Linked DNA regions of Homo sapiens: all the other regions are linked to region 1. Evidence: promoter capture Hi-C in 16 types of primary human blood cells and fetal thymus (Javierre and others, 2016). All regions are on one chromosome and are shown on one strand. Each heading gives the region's core, a stretch centred on a gene start or on the middle of the fragment in contact. The rest is flanking DNA. Distances are from core to core; before and after follow the strand shown.

The links. Contacts are between HindIII fragments. The CHiCAGO score rates a contact against its expected background, and 5 or more counts as called.
Region 2: a contact is called between a fragment that was not itself captured here and the fragment with the promoter of FUS in region 1, in 9 of 17 cell types (M0 macrophages, M1 macrophages, M2 macrophages and 6 more). The highest score is 15.3, in M0 macrophages.
Region 3: a fragment that was not itself captured here is called in contact with the fragment with the promoter of FUS in region 1 in 5 of 17 cell types (M0 macrophages, M1 macrophages, megakaryocytes and 2 more); the score reaches 9.6 in M0 macrophages.
Region 4: a contact is called between the fragment with the promoter of SETD1A here and the fragment with the promoter of FUS in region 1, in 1 of 17 cell types (M0 macrophages). The highest score is 5.2, in M0 macrophages.
Region 5: a contact is called between a fragment that was not itself captured here and the fragment with the promoter of FUS in region 1, in 5 of 17 cell types (M2 macrophages, M0 macrophages, M1 macrophages and 2 more). The highest score is 8.9, in M2 macrophages.
Region 6: a fragment that was not itself captured here is called in contact with the fragment with the promoter of FUS in region 1 in 6 of 17 cell types (M0 macrophages, M1 macrophages, monocytes and 3 more); the score reaches 9.7 in M0 macrophages.
Region 7: a contact is called between the fragment with the promoter of HSD3B7 here and the fragment with the promoter of FUS in region 1, in 5 of 17 cell types (M0 macrophages, erythroblasts, monocytes and 2 more). The highest score is 6.4, in M0 macrophages.

What each region holds. Positions count from the first base shown.
Region 1 is chr16:31,178,030-31,181,534 of GRCh38, reverse strand. It overlaps FUS (FUS RNA binding protein), which reads right to left and starts at 1,396. Exons shown (of 15, transcript NM_004960.4): 1 at 1,308-1,396. The coding sequence starts at 1,320. RefSeq lists enhancers at 121-170, 271-330, 361-450, 1-636, 637-1,398 and 4 more and silencers at 681-730, 851-1,000, 1,641-1,710. The HindIII fragment of the contact is 6,651 bases long and covers 1-1,420 here.
Region 2 is chr16:31,401,049-31,404,735 of GRCh38, reverse strand. ITGAD (integrin subunit alpha D) reads right to left here. Exons shown (of 30, transcript NM_005353.3): 6 at 2,491-2,621; 7 at 1,091-1,236. Among named protein-coding and RNA genes, the nearest start is that of ITGAD, 9.6 kb to the right of the region's middle. The HindIII fragment of the contact is 7,259 bases long and covers 1-3,687 here.
Region 3 is chr16:30,938,771-30,942,084 of GRCh38, reverse strand. All of the region lies in intron 7 of FBXL19 (F-box and leucine rich repeat protein 19), which reads right to left. Among named protein-coding and RNA genes, the nearest start is that of ORAI3, 8.6 kb to the left of the region's middle. RefSeq lists a silencer at 1-75. The HindIII fragment of the contact is 714 bases long and covers 936-1,649 here.
Region 4 is chr16:30,956,255-30,959,532 of GRCh38, reverse strand. It overlaps SETD1A (SET domain containing 1A, histone lysine methyltransferase), which reads right to left and starts at 1,779. Exons shown (of 19, transcript NM_014712.3): 1 at 1,569-1,779; 2 at 652-816; 3 at 347-442. The coding sequence starts at 801. RefSeq lists silencers at 1,071-1,160, 1,301-1,520 and enhancers at 2,121-2,250, 1,708-2,471. The HindIII fragment of the contact is 14,721 bases long and covers 1-3,278 here.
Region 5 is chr16:31,342,308-31,345,946 of GRCh38, reverse strand. No RefSeq gene overlaps it. Among named protein-coding and RNA genes, the nearest start is that of ITGAX, 11 kb to the left of the region's middle. The HindIII fragment of the contact is 4,728 bases long and covers 1-3,639 here.
Region 6 is chr16:31,002,377-31,006,175 of GRCh38, reverse strand. All of the region lies in intron 1 of STX1B (syntaxin 1B), which reads left to right. Among named protein-coding and RNA genes, the nearest start is that of STX1B, 6.4 kb to the left of the region's middle. The HindIII fragment of the contact is 2,126 bases long and covers 1,332-3,457 here.
Region 7 is chr16:30,983,211-30,986,456 of GRCh38, reverse strand. It overlaps HSD3B7 (hydroxy-delta-5-steroid dehydrogenase, 3 beta- and steroid delta-isomerase 7), which reads right to left and starts at 1,250. Exons shown (of 7, transcript NM_025193.4): 1 at 1,160-1,250; 2 at 633-804; 3 at 253-408; 4 at 1-34. The coding sequence starts at 798. It overlaps SETD1A (SET domain containing 1A, histone lysine methyltransferase), which reads right to left. Exons shown (of 19, transcript NM_014712.3): 18 at 2,685-2,822; 19 at 1,793-2,607. The coding sequence ends at 2,434. RefSeq lists an enhancer at 1,269-1,781. The HindIII fragment of the contact is 29,451 bases long and covers 1-3,246 here.

The DNA of each region.
Region 1 (3,505 bases), core at 147-2,646:
AAAGAGCCCTTGGACCCCAAATGACAGAGATCATGCAACTGCTCGCCTTAGGAGGCGAAAGTCAACAGGTACTCGAGTCCCCAGCCCTGGGACTCCAGATGGTTCCGTTTTCTCACCTACCCTGCCTTCCCCCAGCGAACAAAAAGCAACAAAAGCGCTTTTGAAAAGCCCCACTTAAGATACACGAACAAGATCAACTCATCCTCCCAGCACAGGAAACGCGGCGCTTCCCCCGCAGGAAAAGGGAAAGAGGACCAGGAGAGGGTGTGGCCTCGGGCGGCCGTTCTTCTCCGTCCCTATCTCAGAAAAAAGAAATTTAGACCAGGCGTGGTTGGCTTACGTCTGTAATCCCGACACTTCGGGAGGCCCAGGCGGGCGGATCACCTGAGGTCAGCAGTTCGAGACCAGCCTGACCAACATGGTGAAACCCCGCCCCTACTAAGAAACACAAAAATTAGCCGGGCTGTGGTGGCGGGCGCCTATAATCCCAACTACTCAGGAGGCTGAGGCAGAAGAATCACTTGAACCCAGGAGGTGGACGTTGCAGTGATCTGAGATCGCACCACTGCACTCCAGCCTGGGCGACAGAGGAAGACCGTGTCTCCAAAAAAAAAAAGAAAGAAATTTAGGCGGGAAAAACTCTCGGGCCGTCCCCAAGTCCGTTGGTCGAACCCTGACCACCGCCGCCAAACCGTTAAGCTAGAGGGCGGCCCCGATCCCGAGCCTCCGCCCCCAGCCGCGTGGCAACCCAGGCGGGAACGGAGCGATCCCGCCCATTCGCGAAGGACCACTGAGGGACAAGGCTCACACCGGACGCGCGCCGCCGAGTCTTCCGCGAAGGGTCTCGCGACAGAAAGCTGAACCAACACGAGGCGGGGAAGGGGTACCCGCGCCGCGAAGGGGGAGGGGCCCGCAGAGCGCGTGCGCGCCGCGAGTGCCCGGATGCAGCACTGCGACAAAGCGGGCTCGAGCGCGGGGCCGGGAGTTGGGGGAGGCGAGGCCACGGAGAATGGGCGTTTTCCACCCTCACCTGACGCTTCAAACCCCTAAGAAGCGTCCCTCCCAACGCCCACCCCAAGCAAACGGACTGCAAAGAAAAGACTTCCCGCCCCGCGCGCGAGGGCCAGAGGAGCGAAACAAAATGGCGACACCAGCCTCCTCCAGTTACTCTTCTCCGCGGCTTCCCGCCACAGGGGCGCCAAAAAATCCCACACGGGATCGCCGCCCCGGTCCCACTGAAAACGAAAAGCCCAGCTGGGAGGCCTCGGCCGGGTGCGCCGCCGCCGTCGCCTCGCGCCCTTACCTACCGTTTGAGGCCATGTCCGCGCACGCGCGCACAGGCAAGCAAGCAACGAAGTTCCAACACCGCTGAGTACCGACGCCTGGAGGACTGAGCAGCCCCGCCTCCTGCGTCGAAGCTTAAGTACGCTCCGCCGCCTACGCACCGCGCAGGCGCGCACCAAACGCGGAAGAGCAGGGGGAGGCAGGAACGCACTCCGCCCCCTTCGTAGGGCAGGTAGAGGGTCCGAGCAGGCAGAAGGGAAACAAGTTAACTAGAATCATGCGAATACTATACATAATCATATTTTTTGAGGAAGAACCCCTCTCTCCTCGGCAGGACTAGCCCACGATCTATCTCCACCCCCATGAAGGCACAGTGGTACGGCCTGAGTGCCCGCTGGGGGCGGGGCGAGGGGGCGGTCCCGGCGGCTGGGGACGAAACTGGAGTCACAGCCGGGAGTAGCGGGGTGGAACCGAGATTCCTGTGGCCGGGCCCCTTCGCTGGGCCCCGCTTTCACCCAGGATGGCGAGCTCCTGCCCTCCACCCTCTTGCCGCTGTATGGGGCGCCTCGTCCCCGCGGCTCCAGCCTCCCTCGTCGGCAGCACACTGGCCCTCCCTCTCCTGCGCCCTGAGGTTGACTTCGTCGTCTTTCAGGGTTGCCTTGCCTTTCGGCCTTTCTGGGGTTCGGGGATTATGACGTTTGACCTGAAAGACAGCAGGGATTTCGGCCGGGACCCCTGGGCCCCGGGCTCGTCCAGCACTGGGCTCTCACCCGGATCCTCATGGCTTTGCCCCTGGGGAGCCACGGGGCGGAACAGCCCAGGCCATCCTTGGGACCAGAGAGGGTTGACCTCAGATGTACGGTACCCAGCCTTTTCTCAGGGACCTCCTTTTTATTTTTCTGAAGCCCTACCAGGGCGATCCCAGAAATAAAACGTGTACAAGGCTTAAGTGGTTTCAAAATGCACAGATAATTTCCTTGTCATCAGTCTTACGAAGGAAGTAAAGATACCTCCGTTTTCTAGATAAGGAAAGTGAGACTCAGAGACCCAAGTAATTGTGCCTGATTACAGGGCAGCTAAGAGGAGTCGTGATTCGAATCCAGGTCTTGTAACTGCAAAACACTCCTCTTTTTGGTGGCATGAATGCTAGAGTGTTTGGTCGCCTTTTCACTTCCTGTGAGAGCAAAAGCAAAAAGAAACATTCAAATTAACTTGCAACTTGCACTTTCATCAGCCTTGCCTGGAGAAGGCAATTTGAAACTACTGAATAAAACAAGACAAAAGACGTTAATTCCTGATACATAGGCATGCAGGTTTTCCTTCCCAACTTAACCTTTCAGCGGGATTTCAGAAGGTCCTTTGAGGGTTGGACACGTCTTTCTAGAGAAACAATGAGGGCCATGCCCTGGGCCCGCCCACAAATTAAGCCCCACTAAGCCCTTGACTTCAGCCCTAAAGGCCCTGAATATGCCAATATCCACCCCACCGCCTTTGGAAGGAGAGTTCAACTCTCCAGTGAGAGCAAAAGAAAGGAAGTCCACCCTTATTCATGCATTAAGTCACAAATATTTATTTAGCACCTAGTATGTTCCAGGCACTGTTCTGGGCACTGGGTATGCATTCGTGTACAAAGCAGATGAAGTTAACATTTAATAATAAAGCTGACCGGGTGCGGTGGCTCACGCCTGTAATACCAGCACTTTGGGAGGCCGAGGCGTGTGGATCACGAGGTCAGGAGTTCGAGACCAGCCTGGCCAACATGGTGAAACCCCGTCTCTACTAAAAATACAAAAATTAGCCAGGCGTCGTCCGCGCATCTGTAATCCCAGCTACTCAGGAAGCTGAGATGGGAGAATCGCTTGAACCCAGGAGGCGGAAGTTGCAGTGAGCCAAGACGTGCCACTGCACTCCAGCCTGGGCAACAGAGCAAGACTGTCTCAAAACAAATAATAATAATAAAGCTGACATTTAATAATGATATACATTGTGCTCATCTATAATATGTAATAGCTAACACTTTAACAAGACTTACTGTCAGGCCCTGTTCTGACTGAGTAAACTCTTGATTTTATTTTTCACAACAAAAGGCTGATGTGAGGATGACATTTTATCTTTTTTTTTTTTGGGGGGACACTGTCTCACTCTGTCACCCAGGCTGGAGTGCAGGGGCGCCGTCTCGGCTCACTGCAACATGTGCCTCCCGCGTTCAAGTGATTCTACA
Region 2 (3,687 bases), core at 672-3,171, 220 kb before region 1:
AGATGGGCTTGGCTCTGGGGAGCAAAGGCTGCTGGGAAATTTCCTGCAGTCTGGGCATGAGAGCAGGACTGGAGTTGGTGAGAACCACTCGGTCACCCCTGCCTCATTCATTTTTTTCCCCAGGCCCCACCACTGGAAGAACTTTGAGGGGTGAGGTGGAGACTCCAGAATGGGACACTCCCGTGTGACTTTAAACTTACAGGACAGACGGAGGCCTTCCTCTGGGTTGCTGAGTCACAAGGGGCCACCGTTCAAGGCAGAAGAGCCTCCCAGAAGTAAAGAGGGTGCGTTTGGTGGGAGCATCTCTTGTTTAAGCCAAATTCTAGCACCACCCCAGGGCTGCTCCCAGGGGTGTGTGCAGGAAGCCAAGGATCCCCGACCGTCAGCCCAGCTCCTTCCTACAAGAACCACATGCCTTTCTCGGGGGTCCCACCTCCTACATCGTTTTAGGAATAGACTGCATGTGCACGGGGCAGGCCCACGGTGAGTGCCTGGGTAGCACAGGGGGTGCGCAGGGGTGAGGGATGCGGGAGAGGAGGTGAGTGGGGAGAAAGGCACCAGGACGACCTTGGGTGACAATTCCTGAGTCCCTGACTACTCCATTCTCTGATAAAACCTCAGGCATTTATCCGACACCTCCTACGTGCCCCGGGCTGAGCACCCCACACACATGATCTCAATCCTAAGCTGTGAGCTTATCTTCATCTGAGAGTTACTGAGACTTAGAGCCCATCACCCCAGGGTTACACCCAGAGTAGCTCACGGGGAGCCAGGATGGGAGCCTGATGTGTCTGAGCCAAAGCCCGGGCCTCTGGCTGCTGTGGGGTGGGGAGGGGTCCTGGGGTCCAGGCTCTGCAGAACCAGGCAAAGGGGAGGCATAGCTGCAGAGGAGCCTAGTCCTATATCAGGGAGACTGGCAGCGAGGCAACCAGGAGCACCCCGGGGGGAGGTTCTCCCTGCAGCCCCGACATGCCCCTTGGTAGCCCCTTTCCCTGGAGCCTCCCTCAGCCTCTGAGAAGAGCTGTGCTGACCCAGGGTTAGGAAGTGGGGGTGGCAGTCACATCGCCAGGCTGGGGTCGGGGTTGCTTACACCACTGTCAGGATGCCCGTGGCCGTGAACGTCAGGCCTTTCAGTTGGACGATGGGATCCACCAGGCTCTGCTGGCTCGGGCTGGTCCGGAATTGGGTGAAGGTGAAGTGGATCTTCAGGAGGTTTGAGTACTGCATCAGTGCAAACTGCAAAGGCCAGTGGGGAGGGCCCAGGGCTCAGTGCCTGTTACTATTGTTTTTATTTTAATTTTTTGTAGAGACAGGGTCTCTCAAACTCCTGGCCTCAAGTGATCCTCCTGCCTCAGCCTCCAAGTAGCTGGAACTACAGGCACACGTCACATGCCTGGCTTTGTTTTTTGTTTTGTTTTGTTTTTGGTAGAGACAAGGTCTCACTATGTTGCCCAGGCTGGTCTCGAACTCTTGGCCTCAAGCAATACTCCCACCTCAGCCTCCCAAAGTGCTGGGATTACAGGTGTGAGCCACCACACCAAGCCATATTGTTTTCAGTTTTAATAAACTTTATTTTGGAATTATTTTGGATTTACAAACCATTTCCCATGTGTTTTGAAGCCCTACAAATAATATACTGAAACCCAGAGAAGAAAATTCATTGGCCCAAAAATACAAAATATAAACTGGAAAATCTAAACCAAATGATATTTCCTTCACAGTTTATTAAAAATAACTTTGCCAACCACAATATTTGCTACCCTTAGCTTTTTAAAAATTTTATCACACATTAAATCAATTTGTGTATTTCCTCCCTTCTCAAGAATTTGTGGCTGGGCGTAGTGACTCATGCCTGTAATCCCAGCACTTTGAGAGGCCAAGGTGGGAGGGTTGTTTGAGCCAGGAGTTGGAGACCAGGTTGGGCAATATAACAAGACCCCATCTCTACAATAAAAATTTTTAAAAATTAGCCAGGCATGGTGGCATGCACCTGTAGTCCCATCTACTCAGGAGGCTGAGGAAAGAGGATCACTTGAGCCTGGGAGATCAAGTCTGCAGTGAGCTATGATTGCACCCCCACACTGCAGCCTGGATGACAGAACAAGACCCTGTTTAAAAAACAAAACAGTGGGGTTTTTTTGCACATACATAGGCACTAGTTATGGGAAAATAAAATAATAAAAAGAAATCATTAGTTACATAGAAAATATGTCAGTCAAATTCCATAGCAAAATTATTTTTTAAACACTTTCAATGTTTTTAAACAGCAGAAACATTGTATTTCCTGTAGCTTTTGGATACATTATTAAATGCCAAGAGGGCCTCCTAGGTCAGGGCTCAAGTTGGGCCTGTGCTGGGACCATAGCTTCATTCTCCACCCCAGCCCCATCACACACGGCTCACTGGCCTGCCCCCACCCCTCCCGGGATGCCTCCCCGAGGCCAGCCTCCCCCGTCCCCCAAACCCCAGCCCCAGGTGCCCAGTCTTCACCAGGGTGTCAGTGCCCTCAAACTGGCCCATGACAGCTTGGACAAAGCCCTTCATCTGGTTAAAGTCATTTTGGTCAATGCTTCCAGAGCCGTCAATCAGGAAGACGATGTCCATCTCTTGATGTGGACACTCTGTGGGGGAATGGGGAGGAATCGGAGATGCACTGCGGGGGCCCAACCCCCTCCTGCAGCTCCTGCTCAACAGAGCCCGGGGGCTGTTCTTGGCATCCCCACCTAGTTTCCGACCCCTCCTTGGAGGAGGCCCCAGTCTGCCACCCCAGCCCCCTGCTCCCTTCCTCCCACATGGCCTGGAAAGAGAGGGATGACAACACAGGACCCAGGTGGGCTCCTCATCCATTTAATCAACAAATATTCATTAAACACAGATGCTAGGGGTGCCACAAGCATCAAGGGCGAATGTTTAGCAAAGTGGTTCAGGGCGCGTGTTCTGGAGCCAGTGTGCCTGGGCTAAACCCCAGCTCAGCCACGTGCTAATTGGTGAATTCAGGCACATTACTTAACTTCTCTGGACTTCAGTGTCCCTATCTGTAAAATGAAGGTAATATCAGTGGCTACCACGTGGGATCACTGCAAGGATAAAGCAACACGCACATGGGTGCTGGAGACAAGTCCTGGCCCTCTGCCAGGGTCAGCCGCTGGCACCATTCTCACCACGTGCCAGGCACCTTCGAGGCCTGTAGGATATGCCTGTAGGGATGCTGTGGGGGTGGGGCAGGGATCCACCCCAGACCCCACCCTACCCCCAGTCGGTCAGAGGTCCTTATTTCCAGCTACGTGGAGTTGGCTCTGAGCTGAGTCCCTTCCCAGGAATCACGCTAGGCAGAGGGGAACTGTTGCCCACTGGGACACCTCCTGCCCCTGGAGGAAACCTTTACCGATGACTGGTTCAGCGTCTGAAGGGCCAGCTGCACTCTGAGCCCCCCAGGCATTGGCTGAGGCCTCTGGTTTTTTCATTTTTTGTTTTTTTGAGGCAGAGTCTCACTGTCACCCAGGCTGGAGTGTGGTGGTGTGATCACAGGTCAGTGCAGCCTCGACCTCCCCAGGCTCAGGCAATTCTCCCACCTCAGTCTCCTGAGTAGCTGGGACTACAGGTGTGCACCACCTTGCCTGGCTAATTTTTGTATCTTTTTGTAGAGACGGAGTTTCGCCATGTTGCCCAGGCTGGTCTCAACCTCCT
Region 3 (3,314 bases), core at 43-2,542, 240 kb after region 1:
AGCCCTCAGCTCTCAGCAGCCCACAGTTCCCAGGCTCCCCAGCTCCAAGGGTGCACCCCAGCTCTCTTCTGGCCACACAGACAACAGGGTAGCAAGAAGCACCTGACCTCAGCCAAGAGCACTGGGATTGGAACCCAACTCCATCACTAACTGGAAATGAGACCCTGGGCAAGTCTGTTCCTCTCCCTGAGCCTCAGAAGCCTCGTTTATGATTGAAGGCAATAGCCCCCCCACTCTGCCTGCCCACAGGGCAGCTGTCAGGTCACATGGGCTCATCCCAGCTGTGGGCCTCCCAGCATAGAAAGTGTGCTGCCCAACACATACACAAATGCCACGCATGCTGCCTGATGTCATGCCAAGGGGACTGGTGTTATCCAGTCGTCTCCAGCCACCCTTGGGCTTCTTGATTCCTGACTGAGTTCTGGTGCTCATGGGTCCTTGCCTCCTTTACTCATCTCTGCTTCTGATCCACACCTGTCCCATCTTGACAGCCAGCTGCCCGCAGCTGGACTTACAGCCCTAATATCTTCCCTATTACATTACTGTGTTCCTCCAACTACAATGTAAATTCCACAAGGGCAGATTTGCGTTTTCCACTTTTTGAAAAAAAATTTTTTTTGAGACAGGGTCTCACTCTGTAACCCAGGCTGGACTCAGGCTCACCGCAGCCTCAACCTACTGGGCTCAAGCAATCCTCCCACCTCAGCCTCCTGAGTAGCTGGGACCACAGGCACATGTCACCACGCCTGGCTAATTTTTAAACAATTTTTTTGTAGAGACAGGGTCTCACTATGTTGCCTAGGCTGGTCTTGATCTCCTGGCCTCAAGCGATCCTCCTGCCTTGGCCTCCCAAAACACTGGGATTACAGGCATGAGCTACTGCACCCAGCTGCCCATTTGTAATGAATGAATCAAGCTAGTAACTACTTAAAGCTTCCACTGACCACTCTCCCCCACCTCCTCATCTACAGCATTTCATTTATTCACTCTGATTATAGAAAGCGTTATAGGTCCCAAGTATTGAAGCTACAAAGATGAACGAGTCCTAAGCAACATTAAACAGGTTTCCTAACCCGAGCACTCCACAGGCCTCAACAGACTATCTAACATGCAGTGGGCTGGGTGCAGTGGCTCACACCTGTAATCCCAGCACTTTGGGAGGCCGAGGTGGGTGGATCATGAGGTCAGGAATTCGAGAACAGCCTGGCTGTTCTACTAGTGAAACCCTGTCTCTACTAAAAGTACAAAAAATTAGCTGGGCATGGTGGCGGGCGCCTGTAATCCTAGCTACTCGGGAGGCTGAGGCAGGAGAATTACTTGAACCCGGGAGGCGGAGATTGCAGCGAGCCGAGATCGCACCACTGCACACCAGCTGGGGCAACAGTGAGAGACTCCATCTCAAAAACAAACAAACAAACAAACAAACAAAAAACATGCAGTGAACTGGAGAAGGGCCTCTCAAACGTACTTCCCCAGGAATCCTTCCCCACCTCTCCCAAGGTAATCTAGTAACATTTTGTAGTACACTGAAGTTCCTTTGGACTCAGTTTGAGAACTCTCTTCTCTGAGTTCAGTAGTTCTCAAAGGCATGTCCAGAAATGCCTCTGAGACTCAATAGACTGTGTCAGAAGCAGCAGGCCCAGGAAGCTTTTTTTTTTTTTTCTTGAGACAGTGTCTTGCTTAGTCACCCAGGCTGGGGTGCAGTACTGCGATCACAGCTCACTGCAACCTTAAACTCCTGGGCTCAAGCCATCCTCCTACCTCAGCCTCCTGAGTAGCTGGGACTACAGGCACATGCCACCACACCTGACTTTTTTTTTTTTTTTGAGACAGAGTTTCGCTCTTGTTGCCCAGGCTGGAGTGCAATGGTGTGATCTTGGCTCACTGAAACCACCATCTCCCAAGTTCAAGCGATTCTCCCGCCTCAGCCTCCAGAGTAGCTGGGATTACAGGCATGCGCCACCACGCCCGGCTAATTTTTTGTATTTTTAGTAGAGATAGGGTTTCTCCATGTTGGCCAGGCTGGTCTCGAAATCCTGACCTCAGGTGATCTGCCCACTTTGGCCTCCCATAGTGCTGGGATTACAGGCGTGAGCCACTGTGCCTGGCCTATTTTTTTATTTTTAGTAGAGACAAGGTTGTCCAGGCTGGTTTTGAACTCCTGAGCTCAAGCGATCCTTCCCTTGGCCTCCCAAGGGAAGCTTTCTCTTGCCTCCCTCCCTGCCCTCATGACTCTGAAAGGCTTTTCCTTGTAGAAGCCCTGGGCTGGGGCAGTGATTCCCAAGCTCCAGTATTTGCTGTTCACTTATCTGCGTAACATGATTTATCTTTGAATCATCTCCTCTTTGCACTTAAAACCAGTATTGTTGCCGGGCGCGGTGGCTCATGCGTGTAATCCCAGCACTTTGGGAGGCCGAGGTGGGTGGATCACTAGGTCAGGAGATCAAGACCATCCAGGCTAACACAGTGAAACCCCGTCTCTACTAAAAAAAAAATACAAAAAATTAGCTGGGCGTGGTGGAGGGCGCCTGTAGTCCCAGATACTCGGGAGGCTGAGGCAGGAGAATGGCGTGAATCTGGGAGGTGGAGCTTGCAGTGAGCCGAGATCGTGCCACTGCACTCCAGCCTGGGCGACAGAGCGAGACTCCGTCTCAAAAAAAAAACAAAAAAAAAAACCCCAGTATTGTTTCACATAAATATGTTAATCTTAAAAATAAACACAAAAGTCCAAGTGTGGTGTAATCCCAGCACTTTGGGAGGCCAAGGTGGACAGATCACGAGGTCAGGAGATTGAGACCATCCTGGCTAACACGGTGAAACCCCATCTCTACTAAAAATACAAAAAATTAGCCGGGCGTGGTGGCGGGCACCTGTAGTCCCAGCTACTTGGGAGGCTAAGGCAGGAGAATGGCATGAACCTGGGAGGCGGAGCTTGCAGTAAGCCGAGATTGCGCCACTGCACTCCAGCCTGGGTGACAGAGCGAGACTCTGTCTCAAAAATAAATAAATAAATAAATAAAACACAAAAAAGACCAGAGTTATTAAATCCTAGCCAGGTGTTGCTGTGGCTTTAGGCTACTACCTGAAGACTACTTTTGTTAAACAGGGAGATAAGTATCAGAGAAGTGTTAGAAAAAGCACCCAATAGTGGCCAGGCGCAGTGGCTCACGCCTGTAATCCCAGCACTTTGGGAGGCCGAGGCAGGCGGATCACGAGATCAGGAGATGGAGACCATCCTGGCTAATACGGTGAAACCTCGTATCTGCTAAAAATACAAAAGATTAGCCGGGCGTGGTGGCAGGCGCCTGTAGTCC
Region 4 (3,278 bases), core at 530-3,029, 220 kb after region 1:
TGTCACTCCCCTTGACTGTCAAGGAACTGGGAGATCCCACTCTTGTGTGCTATGATGCACTGTCTACGAATATACAGTGATAGGTATAGCAGCTAAAGAGTCTTTACCTCACCCTTCAAGAAGTCGACACCCCAGCCACCAGGGATACACTTAGGACACCTGACCTGCACCTTTCTGGAAGATTAAGTGTACCTCCTATCCAAAACAACTGAGTCTCACAGCCTCAGAGGTTGCTAGATCTGGCTGAGATCCTTTCATTGGAAACCCTTTTATTCAGCTATAGTGCCAAGACGCATCCTCCACACCCTCTTAGGACTACCACACCAGGAGCCCAGCAGACACTTACCTTAAACTTAGGGACTGGGAGGGAAAAGTCTCTGTTTTTGGACCTGACATGGCAACGGGGGTCTTGGAGGTCTTCGACTGGTATATACTTTGAGTCCTAGGAAGGAAAGCAGCAGCAGAAAGAGAGCTCAGGGTGAATCCAGGCTAGGGAGCTCCAAGCAGCCCATCTGGACACACACATGCAGAAGAGCTGGGTCCAACTGCCCACTTTCAAGAAGGCAGGCTACCGTTCTAGGTGCTGAACAGAATCACAGAGGACGGGCGCCTGGAGCTCCCCGGATGGCAACCAAAGACCCGGGCACTCACGTTGACACTGAAGTGGACTCCATCATAGCGGTACACCTTCTGAGAAGGCCTGCGCAGGGCAGGGTCCAAGGCAGGATCCACGATGAGCTTGTAGTTCCGCCACTGGAAGCTCGGGGCCTTCTGCCCATCTCCCCCACCTTCCTGATCCATCTTTGCTCATTTACACTGTTAGGGGAAGAGGGACACGCAAGAAGGATCAGGACTTGGGGCCTGACTCCCCTGCCTTTCCTCATTGGCTAGCCCCGATTCCAGGTTCTCCCATCACTCCAGTTTCCAACCCTCACCCTGACCCGGGGCTCCCCCGGATTCTCCCCCAAGTACCCTCTGTTTCGCCACAACAACCCAGCCTCTTTCCACCTCCCAACTCTACTGTCAGGCCCCCAGGCCCGTCTCGAGCCCCCTTACCTTCCCGCTCTCCCTAGCGCGCGCCCCACTTGGCCTCGGAGCAAGACCCCTCCCCCGCCCCCTGCAGGCCCCGCCCCCTCCCGCCTCCTCACCGGCCAGCGGCCCGGGCCGAGCCCGGCCACGGCTCCCACACACCCGCTCTCCTCCCCGCGCCCCGATCCTCCGGCCGAAAGGTGGCACCTCTTCGGGGCGTTGGAAACACCGCGAGACCGAGCCCGAGACCCGGCTTCGACCCCGAATCCGGGCGGGGGGGTGGGGGGAACGTGCACCGCTGCCCTCTCCTCCCGCCCCGGCGCGTTCTGCACCCCCCCCAGCAGGTCTCCGCGCACGCGCGCCGCGCGGCCCCACTCACCCGCTCCCGGCGAGCGGCTCCCCCTCCCCCCACCTCGCGCGGCACCTCAGCGGCGCGAGGCGGCGGCAGCGGCAGCGCGAGACCCGGCCCCGCAGCGGTGGCGGCGGCGGCGCCCCCCCACCACCACCTCCCCGGCGCGCGCACCAAACACCACTGCCACCTGCGCGAGGCCCAGCGGGCACAGGGTCTGCATTCGCACTTTCGCCACAGGCGCTGCCGGGGGACCCACGGGGCCGAGGGTAGCGGCTTCGCCTCGGCCGGCGCCCTGGGAGGCTCGGAAGTTGCGGCCCAGGGAGCTTGGAGATTGGCCGCATCCCCCGGAGAGTCGGCTTCGCCACGACGATCTAGATGCTGCGGCCCGGGACCTTGACGAATCGGCGGCGACGAAAGCTGCGACTAGTCCCTGAGGAAAAGGGGCGGGGCGGAGGGGAGGAGGCCAGCCAGCGCTGGGGAACCTTCAGTGGCGCGTTCTGCAGACGCAGATTCACCGGGCGGGCGGGGCGAATCGCTGGACAGGATGCGCGCCGCTTTGCTTCTCTTCCCCGTCCCTTCCTTGCACTGCCAAATTCTGAGAGGCTGCAGATTCGCCACTGTTCCCGGCCTCAGCCGTAGCCTCCCCTTCATCCGCCTTGGTGGAGTCAAGAAAATAACGGCCCGTTAGCCAATCCCTGCTGGCAGAGTCGACAACTTTTTTTGGATTTTTCTTACTGGCCCAAGTGAGAGAATAGCCCGCTTCTGTCCCTGGGGAAAATGCCTCCAGCCCAGCGCTCCTCTCAGAGTCCGATGAGAATTTTCAGCCGAGTATCGAGGGACCCGAGGAATTCTGAGGATCCGACCTGGCGAATCTGCGGATTCCGCTGTGGGCGGGGCCGAGTCAAGGGGCGGGGCCAGGGCGTGCAGAGCCTGGGACTAGGGGGCGCCTCCGGGAGGACCCACGAGGACTCACCCGGATGGGAGGGACGGCCGGGAGGTGGAAAAACACAACCGTGAGCGGTGACTCAGGCGGTTTGCCCCGCCTCGCACATAAATGCAGGGTACCTTTCCTTCCCGTTATTGCCCTTGGGTGTCTGGCTGCTTAGGATGCCCATTTGCCAGATGGGGAGAGTGAGGCCTGTAGAAGGTGCCCTACTTTGCCGTACTCAAACCCACCATTAGTGGTTAAATCCAGGGACCGCCTCAAGGTTTTCTGATGAGCCTAGTGGGGCCTAAGTGCCCTTAAATGGGCCTTGTAATAATAAACGAGGTCCTACAGGAACGGGACTGGACTGGTGTGTCCTCCTGGCGTCATGGTCCCACTGCCCGCTTCTTTGGCTATGGCGCCCTATGCTCACGGGATGCCTCCGCACAAGGGCAGCAGCGGCCCAGGCCTACCCCTGGAACTCGGGCTGAGGTTTCTGAAGGCTGGGCACCGTTTTGATCCCGTGTGGGCGCAGGCACTCCCAGGAGGTCCCTTTTCCTGAGCTGAGGATGCCCCAAGCTCCTGATATGTGTACATCAGGCCCTCGCTATATGGCCTTGGGCAAGTCATTGACCTAAGTTTCAGAGTCTTCCTTTAAACTTGGATGTCAATTTGTACACATCCGAACAGTGCAGAAAAGACCCTTAGAGCCTGGTTTATGCAAATTCACCATTTTAAGTAATAGGAAAAGGTGGAAGGGAGACTTATCCAAGGTCTCACACCACAAGATAGAAGAAGATTAGGACTCTACAATTTTGAGGGAAATAAGGCTGAAAAAAATAATTTACGTGGAGGCATAGGTGTTGAGATCAGATTCCTTTCTGTTCCAGTTGAAAGGCACTGGTTCCTTTTCTCAAATCAAAGAGAGATTCCCGTGTGAGGGGTAGATAGTCCAAGTTCAGTTTCATGGAC
Region 5 (3,639 bases), core at 670-3,169, 160 kb before region 1:
ACTTTACAAAAATTTAAAAATTAGGCTAGTACTGGCTGGGCACGGTGGCTCACACCTGCAATGCCAGCACTTTGGGAGGCTGAGGTGGGCAAATCACGAGGTCAGGAGTTCAAGACCAGCCTGACCAACATGGTGAAACCCCGTCTCTACTAAAAATACAAAAATTAGCCAGGCGTGGTAGCGGGTGCCTATAATCCCAGCTACTCAGGAAGCTGAGGAAGGAGAATTGCTTGAACCCAGGAGGCGGAGGTTGCAGTGAGCTGAGATCGTGCCATTGCACTCCAGCCTGGATGACAGAGCAAGACTCCGTCTCAAAAAAATAAATAAATAATTAGGCTAGCACAGTAATGTGGGCCTGTAGTCCCAACCACTCAGGAGGCTGAAGCAGGAGGATCCCTTGAGCCTGGGAGATCAAGTATGCAGTGAGCTATGATCGCACCACTGCACTCAGCCTGGATGAAAGAGAAAGACCCTGTCTCAAAAAAAAAAAAAAAAAAAAGAAAGAAAGAAAAATGTGAAGTGGCCCAGTTGGATACTATATGGTCCTGAAGATGTGTTAGGATGAAGGGAAAGGGATGTCTGAGAGCTGTCTCTCCTTCAAGAGTGCACAGAGAATAGGAAGCTGGGGAAACCCAGGCCTGTTCATTCATTCATTCCCTCTCTCAGCAATTGTTTGTTACATGTTCTGGGTATTGTCCTAGGGTCTAGGGGTGTGATGGGGCTTCCTGTCCCCTGGGAATGTACAGTCTCCAGGAAAAGAAATGCAGGTTGCCATGGCAGCAAGTGAGAGGCAGAACTTCTCCCAGCTGGGGGATCAAGAGGATCTGGAGGAAGATCACTTCAGCTGAGGCAGGGGTCAGGTGAACAAGAAAAGGAAGTGAGTTCTGGGCAGAGGATACAGCATAGGCAAAGGTTGAGAGGTGAAAGGGAGTTAGGGGAACGCGGACAGGTCCCGACCTTCCCAGATAGGCCATGTTGAAGCCGGGCTTCTCCGGTAATTACTAATCACAATGCCTTTCACTTTCAGAAGCGTGTTGGTCAACCAAAGTGTGGCTCACCTCGGAAATGTGAGGTTCAAGAGGGAGGGGTGGGCCGGAGCAGAAGCTGAGCTACAGAGGAAGCCAGGGTCTCAAAGGTCACCTCAAAAACAACTGCCCAGGCTCAGAGGCCAGAGTGCTATGTGGAGTCAGGGGACCAGAGTGATTGGAGAGCCGTGTCCTGCCTAATAGGGCAGTTCTGTTGCAGCCTCATATTGCCAAACGTTTCAGTTTTTCTTTTTCTTTCTTTTTTTTCTTTTTCCTTTGAGGCAGGGTATTGTTATGTTGTCCAAGCTGGAGTGCAGTGGTGCCATCATAGCTCACTGCAGCACTGACCTCCTGGGCTCAAGCAATCCTCCCACCTCAGCCTCCTGAGTAGCTGAGACCGCAGGTGTGCACCAGCACACCTGGCTAATTATTATTATTATTTTGAGATGGAGTTTCACTCTTGTTGCCCAAGCTAGAGTACAATGGTGTGATCTTGGCTTACTACAGCCCTCGCCTCCTGGGTTCAAGCGGTTCTTCTGCTTCAGTCTCCTGAGTAGCTGGGATTACAGACACCCGCCACCACTCGCAGCTAATTTTTTGTACTTTTAGTAGAGATGAGGTTTTGACATGTTGGCCAGGCTGGTCTCGAACTCCTGACCTCAGGCGATCCACCAGCCTCAGCCTCCCAAAGTGCTGGGATTACAGGTGTGAGCCACTGAACCTGGCCCTTTTTTTTTTTTTTTTTTTTAAGAGACAGGTCTTGCTATGTTGCTCAGGCTGGTCTTGAACTCCTGGGCTCAAGCAATCTGCCCCCTTTGGCCTCCCAAATGCTGGGATTACAGAACTGCACCACCATGACTGGCCTCCAATTTTTCTTTTTTTATTATTATTATTATTATACTTTAAGTTTTAGGTTACATATGCACAACATGCAGGTTTGTTACGTATGTATACATGTGCCATGTTGGTGTGCTGCACCCATTAACTCGTCATTTAGCATTAGGTATATCTCCTAATGCTATCCCTCCCCCCTCCCCCCACCCCACAACAGGCCCCGGTGTGTGATGTTCCCCTTCCTGTGTCCATGTGTTCTCATTGTTCAATTCCCACCTATGAGTGAGAACATGCGGTATTTGGTTTTTTGTCCTTGCGATAGTTTGCTGAGAATGATGGTTTCCAGCTTCATCCATGTCCCTACAAAGGACATGAACTCATCATTTTTTATGGCTGCATAGTATTCCGTGGTGTATATGTGCCACATTTTCTTAATCCAGTCTATCATTGTTGGACATTTGGGTTGGTTCCTAGTCTTTGCTATTGTGAATAGTGCCGCAATAAACATACGTGTGCATGGGTCTTTATAGCAGCATGATTTATAATCCTTTGGATATATACCCAGTAATGGCATGGCTGGGTCAAACGGTATTTCTAGTTCTAGATCCCTGAGGAATCACCATACCGACTTCCACAATGGTTGAACTAGTTTACAGTCCCACCAACAATGTAAAAGTGTTCCTATTTCTCCACATCCTCTCCAGCACCTGTTGTTTCCTGACTTTTTAAGGATCGCCATTCTAACTGGTGTGAGATGGTATCTCATTGTGGTTTTGATTTGCATTTGTCTGATGGCCAGTGATGATGAGCATTTTTTCGTGTGTCTTTTGGCTGCATAAATGTCTTCTTTTGAGAAGTGTCTGTTCATATCCTTCGCCCACTTTTTGATGGAGTTGTTTCTTTTTTTCTTGTAAATTTGTTTGAGTTCATTGTAGATTCTGGATATTAGCCCTTTGTCAGATGAGTAGCTTGCAAAAATTTTCTCCCATTCAGTAGGTTGCCTGTTCACTCTGATGGTGGTTTCTTTTGCTGTGCAGAATCTTCTTAGTTTAATTAGATCCCATTTGTCAATTTTGGCTTTTGTTGCCATTGCTTTTGGTGTTTTAGACTTGAAGTCCTTGCCCATGCCTGTGTCCTGAATGGTATTGCCTAGGTTTTCTTCTAGGGTTTTTATGGTTTTAGGACTAACATGTAAGTCTTTAAACTATCTTGAATTAATTTTTGTATAAGGTGTAAGGAAGGGATCCAGTTTCAGCTTTCTACATGTGGCTAGCCAGTTTTCCCAGCACCATTTATTAAATAGGGAATCCTTTCCCCATTGCTTGTTTTTGTCAGGTTTGTCAAAGATCAGATAGTTGTAGATATGCGGCATTACTTCTGAGGGCTCTGTTCTGTTCCATTGGTCTATATTTCTGTTTTGGTACCAGTACCATGCTGTTTTGGTTACTGTAGCCTGGTGGTATAGTTTGAAGTCGGGTAGCGTGATGCCTCTAGCTTTGTTCTTTTGGCTTAGGATTGACTTGGCAATGTGGGCTCTTTTTTGGTTCCATATGAACTTTAAAGTAGTTTTTTCCAATTCTGTGAAGAAAGTCATTGGTAGCTTGATGGGGATGGCATTGAATCTATAAATTACCTTGGCCAGTATGGCCATTTTCATGATATTGATTCTTCCTACCCATGAGCATGGAATGTTCTTCCATTTGTTTGTATCCTCTTTTATTTCATTGAGCAGTGGTTTGTAGTTCTCCTTCAAGAGGTCCTTCACATCCTTTGTAAGTTG
Region 6 (3,799 bases), core at 1,145-3,644, 180 kb after region 1:
GCATGGGAAGCCCGTGTGTGTCAGTGCTGGGGCACGCATATGTTTACACACACACACGTACACACACGCACACTCTCTCTGACTTTTCTGTCACCCAATTCCAGTCTCTTGCCGCCTCTGTGTTTTTGTCACCGTCTCACCATCTGTCTCTCTGGTCACTGACTTGCTGGCTCTCACTGTCACTCTCCTCCTTCCGCTTCTGTATCTGTCCTTGCCGTCGCTCCACATCGACATACACACAAGGCCCGTGGTGGCTCTGGTGTGGAAGACCTGGACTTAGGGGGCCCCTGAGGAGGTCAGGCTGCAGCTGGAGGCTTGGATCTGATGTGCGCAGTCCCCAGGTGCTTCTGGAAGGGGCTCAGGGGCACTGCACTCTCTCATTCAATCCCTCTCAAGTGCTCAAGGAGCTGTGCGCTGTAGAGCAGAGTGCCTGAGTTTGAGTCATCCCATCAGCTGTGTGATCTTGGGCAAGTTACCCAATCTCTCTGCGCCTCCACCTCCTCATCTGTCCAGTGAGAATAAGAATATGACCTCATGGAGTGGTCGTGAGGATTAAACAAGAGATGCAGGCTGGGTGCAGTGGCTCACACCTGTCATCCCAGCGCTTTGGGAGGCCAAGGAGAGAGGATCTCTTGAGCCCAGGAGTTCGAGACCAGCCTGGGCAATATAGTGAGATCCCATCTCTCAAAAAAAAAAAAAAAAAAAGGAAAAAGAAAAAAAAAGAAATGCAAAGCACTTGTAATAGGACCCAACTCGTGGTAATCAGCACATATATGTTACATCCTCGATTTGCACATGAGGCAACTGAGGCTTGAATCGTTCACCTGTAACCTGAGGCCACCATAAAGTAGACTGGGGCACATTTGATCATCTTTTCCTAGGTAGTCTGGTTTGCCCACAGCCTGCTTTCTTTTTGGCTGGCCTAACTTCTTCCAGAAATGGATGCTGTACTCATTACTAAATATGCATCACTCAGAGCACGGAGGGCCCTTCAGAGCAGGGTGGGCACTTGCACCAGTCTGCTCATTTCAGTGATGAGGGAACTGGGGCCCAGGGAGGAGTCTAAGTTTGCCTGGGGTCACACAGCAAGACAGACGGAGGCTGGGAGGGATGGCCTCCTGTCCAAGCTCTTCCTGCAGCCCTGGGCCCCTCCTACTGATTTTCTGTCCTGGCTGCAGGAGTTCAGCAGTCCTGAGGACATGGCAGAGTGGGCTTTTTAGGACCAGGAGGGACTGCCATCTGTCAGCAGGACAGAAGGGAGAGAGCCTGACATTTAGTGCCAGACAGTCCTGGGTTCAGGTCCTACCTCTGGCCTCATTTGCTGTGAAGCTTTAGGCAGGTCAGGCAACCTCTCTGAGCCTGTTTCCTTGTCTGTAACATGGAATCAGCCGGTGGTAGGCATTGTTACCACTCAGCAAATGCAGAGACTAGGCTCAGGGGTAGAGCCAAATGGTCTTCTAACAGCTGACCTGGGGCAAGTTCTTTTTTTTTTTTTTTTAAGAAACGGGGTCTTGCTCTGTCACCCAGGCTGGAGTGCAGTGGCACAATCACAGCTCACTGCAGTCTCTTGACCTCCTGAGCTCCGGGGATCCTCCTACCTCACCCTCCCAAGTAGCTGAGACTACAGGTGCGCACCACCATGCCCAGCTAATTTTTGTATTTTTTGTAGAGACATGATCTTGCTATGTTGCCCAGGCTGGTCTTGAACTCCTGGGTTCAAGTGATCCTCCCACCAGAGCCTCCCAAAGTGCTGGGATTACAGGCGTGAGCCACTACAACTGGCCTGAGTTATTTAGCTCTATGCCTCAGTTTCCCCATCTATAAAAGGGGGCTATAATAATACCTCCAAGGGGACTGTTGTAAGAATGAAATGGATAGATATATGTGGAGCACATAGAACAGTGCCTGGCACATTGTAAAACATCATCTAAATATTTGCATAAGTATAATTATGTTGGCCAATGGTCCTTACAGAGTCCTAATGAAGATTAAATGAGATAACAAGAATGTAAGACTTACGCAAAAAATACCATCAAGTGCTCTTGTTTTGCTAGGTTGTCCGGACACAGAGCCTTCCCCAGATTGGGACTTAGCAGGCGCTCACTGAGAGGGAAAGTAACTGGGAGCGGAAAGTCAGTGGGGGAGGTAGCCCAGTCTGGAGCCTAACAGCGGTCTTTGAGGGGCTGGATGCCCATGGTTTTCTGGCCCTATGTGGCCTGGGTGCCCTTGGGCAAGTCACTCTCCTTTTACCCCCCTGGCTTCCTGTTCCCTCATCTGTGAAATGGGGACGATGATGTTTATGCAGCTTTTCTCTCAGGGCTGGTGGTGCTGAGGATCAAAACGGATTATGGATGTAAAAGTGTTTGTAAATGGTAGAGGATTATTAGCTCCCAGCTCTCTTTGTATTTATTATACCAAATAAACCACACTTGGGCCTTCTATCATTCTTCCTGTCTTGAGGGCAAACAAATAGGTAGCCCAGGGTGCTCCAGAGATGAACCTAAGGGAGGTGGCTCCAAGAACAACAGGAGAGATTGAAATTAGATTTTAGGAAAGACTTCCTAACATTAGCATGGGGAAGGGAGAGACACAGAGAACAGGAAAGTCCTCAGGCACCCGGGCCAGGGAGAGGCCGCATGACCTGCGTGAGGCTGGTGGCTGAGTGAGTGGTTGAAGGGAGAGAAAGGGCAGAGGAAGGCTTTTGGCTCTAGGGGAAGGAGGCCTTGTAGCACAGCTGGATTTTGAGGACAGAGAAAGTGAAGAGCATCATGGTAGGCCGATGGGTCCTCAGAGGTGAGCCCAGCATCCCAGAGCCTCTCAGGGTCCCCAACTTATGCCACCTGTGCCGCCCCACTTTCTGGGGGCAGCTGTGAGCCAAGACAGAGGAAACTCCCTTTCCAGGCGGATGGTTGGGATTGTCTGGAAATTCAACACAAGTGCTGAACACATTTTCCGACACAGTGTGGGCCCAGCGTCTGTGTGAAGACTCCCTGGAGTTCCATTTGGGCTGGGCTTAGCAGGGAGGCTGGGGTGGCTCAGGAGCGTGGAGCTGGAGGCCCCCCAGGCTGTGCTGGCTTTTCCTGGGGCTGTGGGGCACTGCTGATCCTGAGTTTTGGCTGTGTGGACTGCACCTAGGTCCCATCTGGCCCTGTCTAGGTTCAATCTGAGCTGTCTGGGATCTGTCTGGGATCCGTGTGAGCCTCGGCTAGTTCAGTCTGAGCCTGTCTGGTTTCTGTTAGGCCCTGTCTGCGTTCCGCTGGGACCCTGGCAAGCTCTTCTTTTTGGATTCCAACTGAGTACACCCCCAGGTGGATGCTGTTTGGATCCTGTCTTGATTTCACCCAGCCTCTGGGGTTTGGATTCTGTCTGAGCTCTGGCTGGGTTCTTTTTGGAAATCAGAATGAACTCTGTATACATTTCCACTGGGGCTGATCAGGGCTCCAGATGTCATTAAGCTTGATGGACTCAGATTTTGCTGTCAGACCTCTGTCCCAAGCAGAGAAGGACTCAGGTGTGTGTAGCACAGGGCACCTCCCCTACAGCCTCTCCTGTCCAGCTCTGAGTGTGTGTGCAGACATGAGGCTCGGAGAAGCTGGAAGAACAAGCCCAGTGAGCCCTCCCAAATGTCCTCAGGGGTGCAGCTGAAAGCCAGTGTGTCCACACATGTCAGTGCGGCTCAGCTGTGAGTCTGCGTGCGGGTGAACGCCAGCATCAGTGCATCTCCGTGTGGGTGTCGGGGGGGCCTATTCCTGTGTGCCTTGGGTGTCAGCTCTTCTGTCTGTGTCTCGAGTCTGTCTGT
Region 7 (3,246 bases), core at 1-2,500, 190 kb after region 1:
GTCTGCACACAAGCCTCGATCACGTTCCGGGTACCTGGCAGAGGAGGAGGCGTATCCAAGCTGCAGCTTCTTCCCTCTCTGCATCTTCCTCCTCCCCATCCCAGGTCCAGGGAAAACCATGACAGGTCAGGGGAGGCGGGGGCAGGGCTGTCAATAGGACAACTTGTCCCAGGGGAGTCACCGGAGGTCAAGGCCAAAGACAGAGTGGGGAACAAACAGGCAAGATGGCCAGGAGTGTCCAGAGCTCCTCACCCTGCACGTTGACCTCATGGATGGTCTTGGGACTGGCCCTGCCAAACACGTCTACCAGCCCAGCCGTGTGGATGACCACATGGGCTCCGGCCACAGCTGCTGCCACCTCATGGGCCTGGGTCACGTCCCCCTGGATGGCAGTCACCCTCACAGGCCCTGGCCGGGGTTGGAGGACACAGGCCATGTCAGAGCTGGGGCCAGAGGCCAGAGGCTGGGTTCATCTTCCACCCTGGAGTCACGTTCCCAATGTGACTCACTCGACCCATCCATGTGGACAGAAACCAGCATCATCTGTTCCACTGCAGGGGTGGGGATCCCAGCTTGGGAAGGGTTGGGGAAGCGTCCACACCCTCTCCACCACAAGCTCCCCCAACAAGAACCTGTCTTCAGCTCCTCCAGCCAGGGACCCAGGTGTTGGTCAAAGACCCGCAGCTCCCCGAGCCGGGGCTCCCGCTGCAGCAGCATTCGCACCACGTGCTCTCCCAGGAAGCCACAGCCCCCTGTGACCAGGTACACCAGCTTCTGGGCCTGTGCAGAGTCGGCCATGCCTGGCTGGGGAAGAGACCTTGGCTCATCCAGGGGCTGGCTGCCACCTGCTGCAACCACCTGTTACTGCTGGAGGTGCCCTGGAGCGGTGACGAGGCTGGCGTTTGCGGGGAGGGCAGAGCTGATCCTGGGAGCTGCAGCAACCAGGCCACCTGCCGTCTGCCCCTGCTGATGGCTGAGTTACGGAGAGAGGGGCGGGCTTGGGGTGCAGGAAGGGGTCAGGGTTTAGGGAGAGAGATTTGAAGGCAGTAAAAGGGTGGGGAGGCCAGGAGTTGAGGGAGGTGGAGGGAAGGTTATAGGAAGGTGGGAAGGGCCGGATGGAGGGAAAGGCCACCTGGGCACTGGCAGCGCCTCTGCCTACCTGCAGCCGCTATCCCAGGGTGCCCAGACTGGCCTGGAGGGGCCCTCTTCTTTCGTCCAGGGCTGGCCGGCCCGCACACCGTCCTTCCGCTGGCTCCTCCTTCTCCCTCCTGCCCCATTCCAGGAACAGAGACCCGCCCAGCCACAACCCCCACCACTCTTGCCCCAAGGCGCCCCCTGGCGGCCGCTCTGTGCTCCACTGGCATCTGGGTCCAGCGGAGAACTTGGTGGGGATGAAGCTCGAACTTGCAGAGTGGGCTGAAGGGGTCTGGGGCTGTGGGTGGAGCCAGCGGTGACCTCATCCCACAGTGTGACCTCAGGCCTTCCCTCCTGCTGGGCTTCCCAGGAGGCCGGAGGTCCAGCTGCAGCTGTGATTGTAGGAAGGGGAGGCCTGACCTTGGCACCACCCTGGCGGGCACTGGTGGGGTATTCCTGGTGCGGGTGCGGCTGCTGCAGCCTGTCAGGGGGTCCGAGACAGTCTCGGACTGTCTCTGCAGGTCTGGGCTCTTGCCTGAAGGCCCCTTTACCTGCCCCACACTTCAGGTACCCACTTTTCCCTCTCTTCAACTTGCACAACCCTCCGTGCCCTCTACCCCCAACCCCTCGCTCCTGCCCAAATACACCGACCAAACACTTTTGTACAATAAAGTTTAATCACAATTATAAAAATGTGGCGTCGGGTTTGCGCTATTAACATATGTACAGTCCAGCCCAGCAAAAGGGACCCACCCCGCCATCCTGGCCTGGCTGAGCCGGGGAGTGACACCAGGGTGGAAGGGTGACCCTCAGGGTCTGGCAGGAACAGATGAGGCAGGGTTCCAGGCACGGAGTCCCCAGGACTGGGGGTGCAGAGCCCCCCCAGGGGGAGAACATGGCCACTGCCCCAGAGACCCCTAAACTGGGGAGGGGTACACGCAGGGCGTAAGGGGAAGTCCCCATTAACACAAAGCAAGAGGACTGTGTAGCCCCCCAGGACAGAATCTGTACAGGCCGGCACCCCAGGTTTCCACAGGAAACAGCTGCTGGCTGCTACAAAACATTTACAGCTTCTTCTCCGCAAAGAAAAACAATCAGGGGGTGGTGGGCAGGGGTGACAGGAGAGGCAGAAGCTGCCTCCAGGGACTGAGGCTCCCTCGCTGGGCTTGGGGCCCCCAACCCCACGCTTGGAGATGGGGGCATGTGGGCCCTGCTGAGCCCACTAAGGCTGGGGGGGTGCTGGGAGCTCAGGGCACCAGGGGGAATAAATAGGGGTGTGGGCACCCATCCTGCCCCACCTCAGTTTAGGGAGCCCCGGCAGCTCTCTGTGCCACACAGACACGGGATCTTGTTGTCTTCCAGTGGGAACTTGTAGTCGTAGGTGATCTCCTCGTCCACGCCAATGGGCTGCTTGGAGTAGATCACGATCTTCTTCTGGGACTCGATGGTGATGACCTTGGCGTAGCAGTTAGGCTGCGGATGGAAGGGCGTGTGAGCCGTGGCCACCCCCACCGACCCCCAACTCCTGCCCCGGCTGGCCCCTGGCGCACCGTGCAGCAGTGGTTGATGAATCTGGCCAGGTTGCCACACTTGGTGGCATCGATGATGGTGTCGTGGTCCACCCGGAACAGGTAGCTGCTGCCAATGCCCTCCTGCACGTAGCGCTTCTCCCGCATGTCGGCCACCATCTGCCAGGGTGAGATGCGATGGTCAGGGAAGAGTCCCCCACTTCCTGCCCCTGAGCACGCCTGCCAGCCAGCACCCCAGGTCCACGCCCACCAGGCCTGGAGCTGCAGCTCTGCCTCCAGCTCCCGCTAACCCGGCACTGACTCTCTCGACTCTGCTTCCAGGAGCCCTCCCTCTTTGGGGCAGCATCCTAAGCCTCTGGTGGCCATTCTAAGTCACCCGCAGGGAACTCCAGGGAAATCTGCACTGGGTAAGAGAGCCACTGACTCCTTCGAGCATCTGCCTGGTCACAGTGGGGTCCCGGACTGCTGGGGCAAGTCTGGGGTTGGGGCAGCTCCTGAAATGACTGGCCATGTCACCAACGGCACCCTGCTCATCTCTCCTCCCTGGACCTCTCTCCAAAACAGGCACCTGTTGGCTGCCACC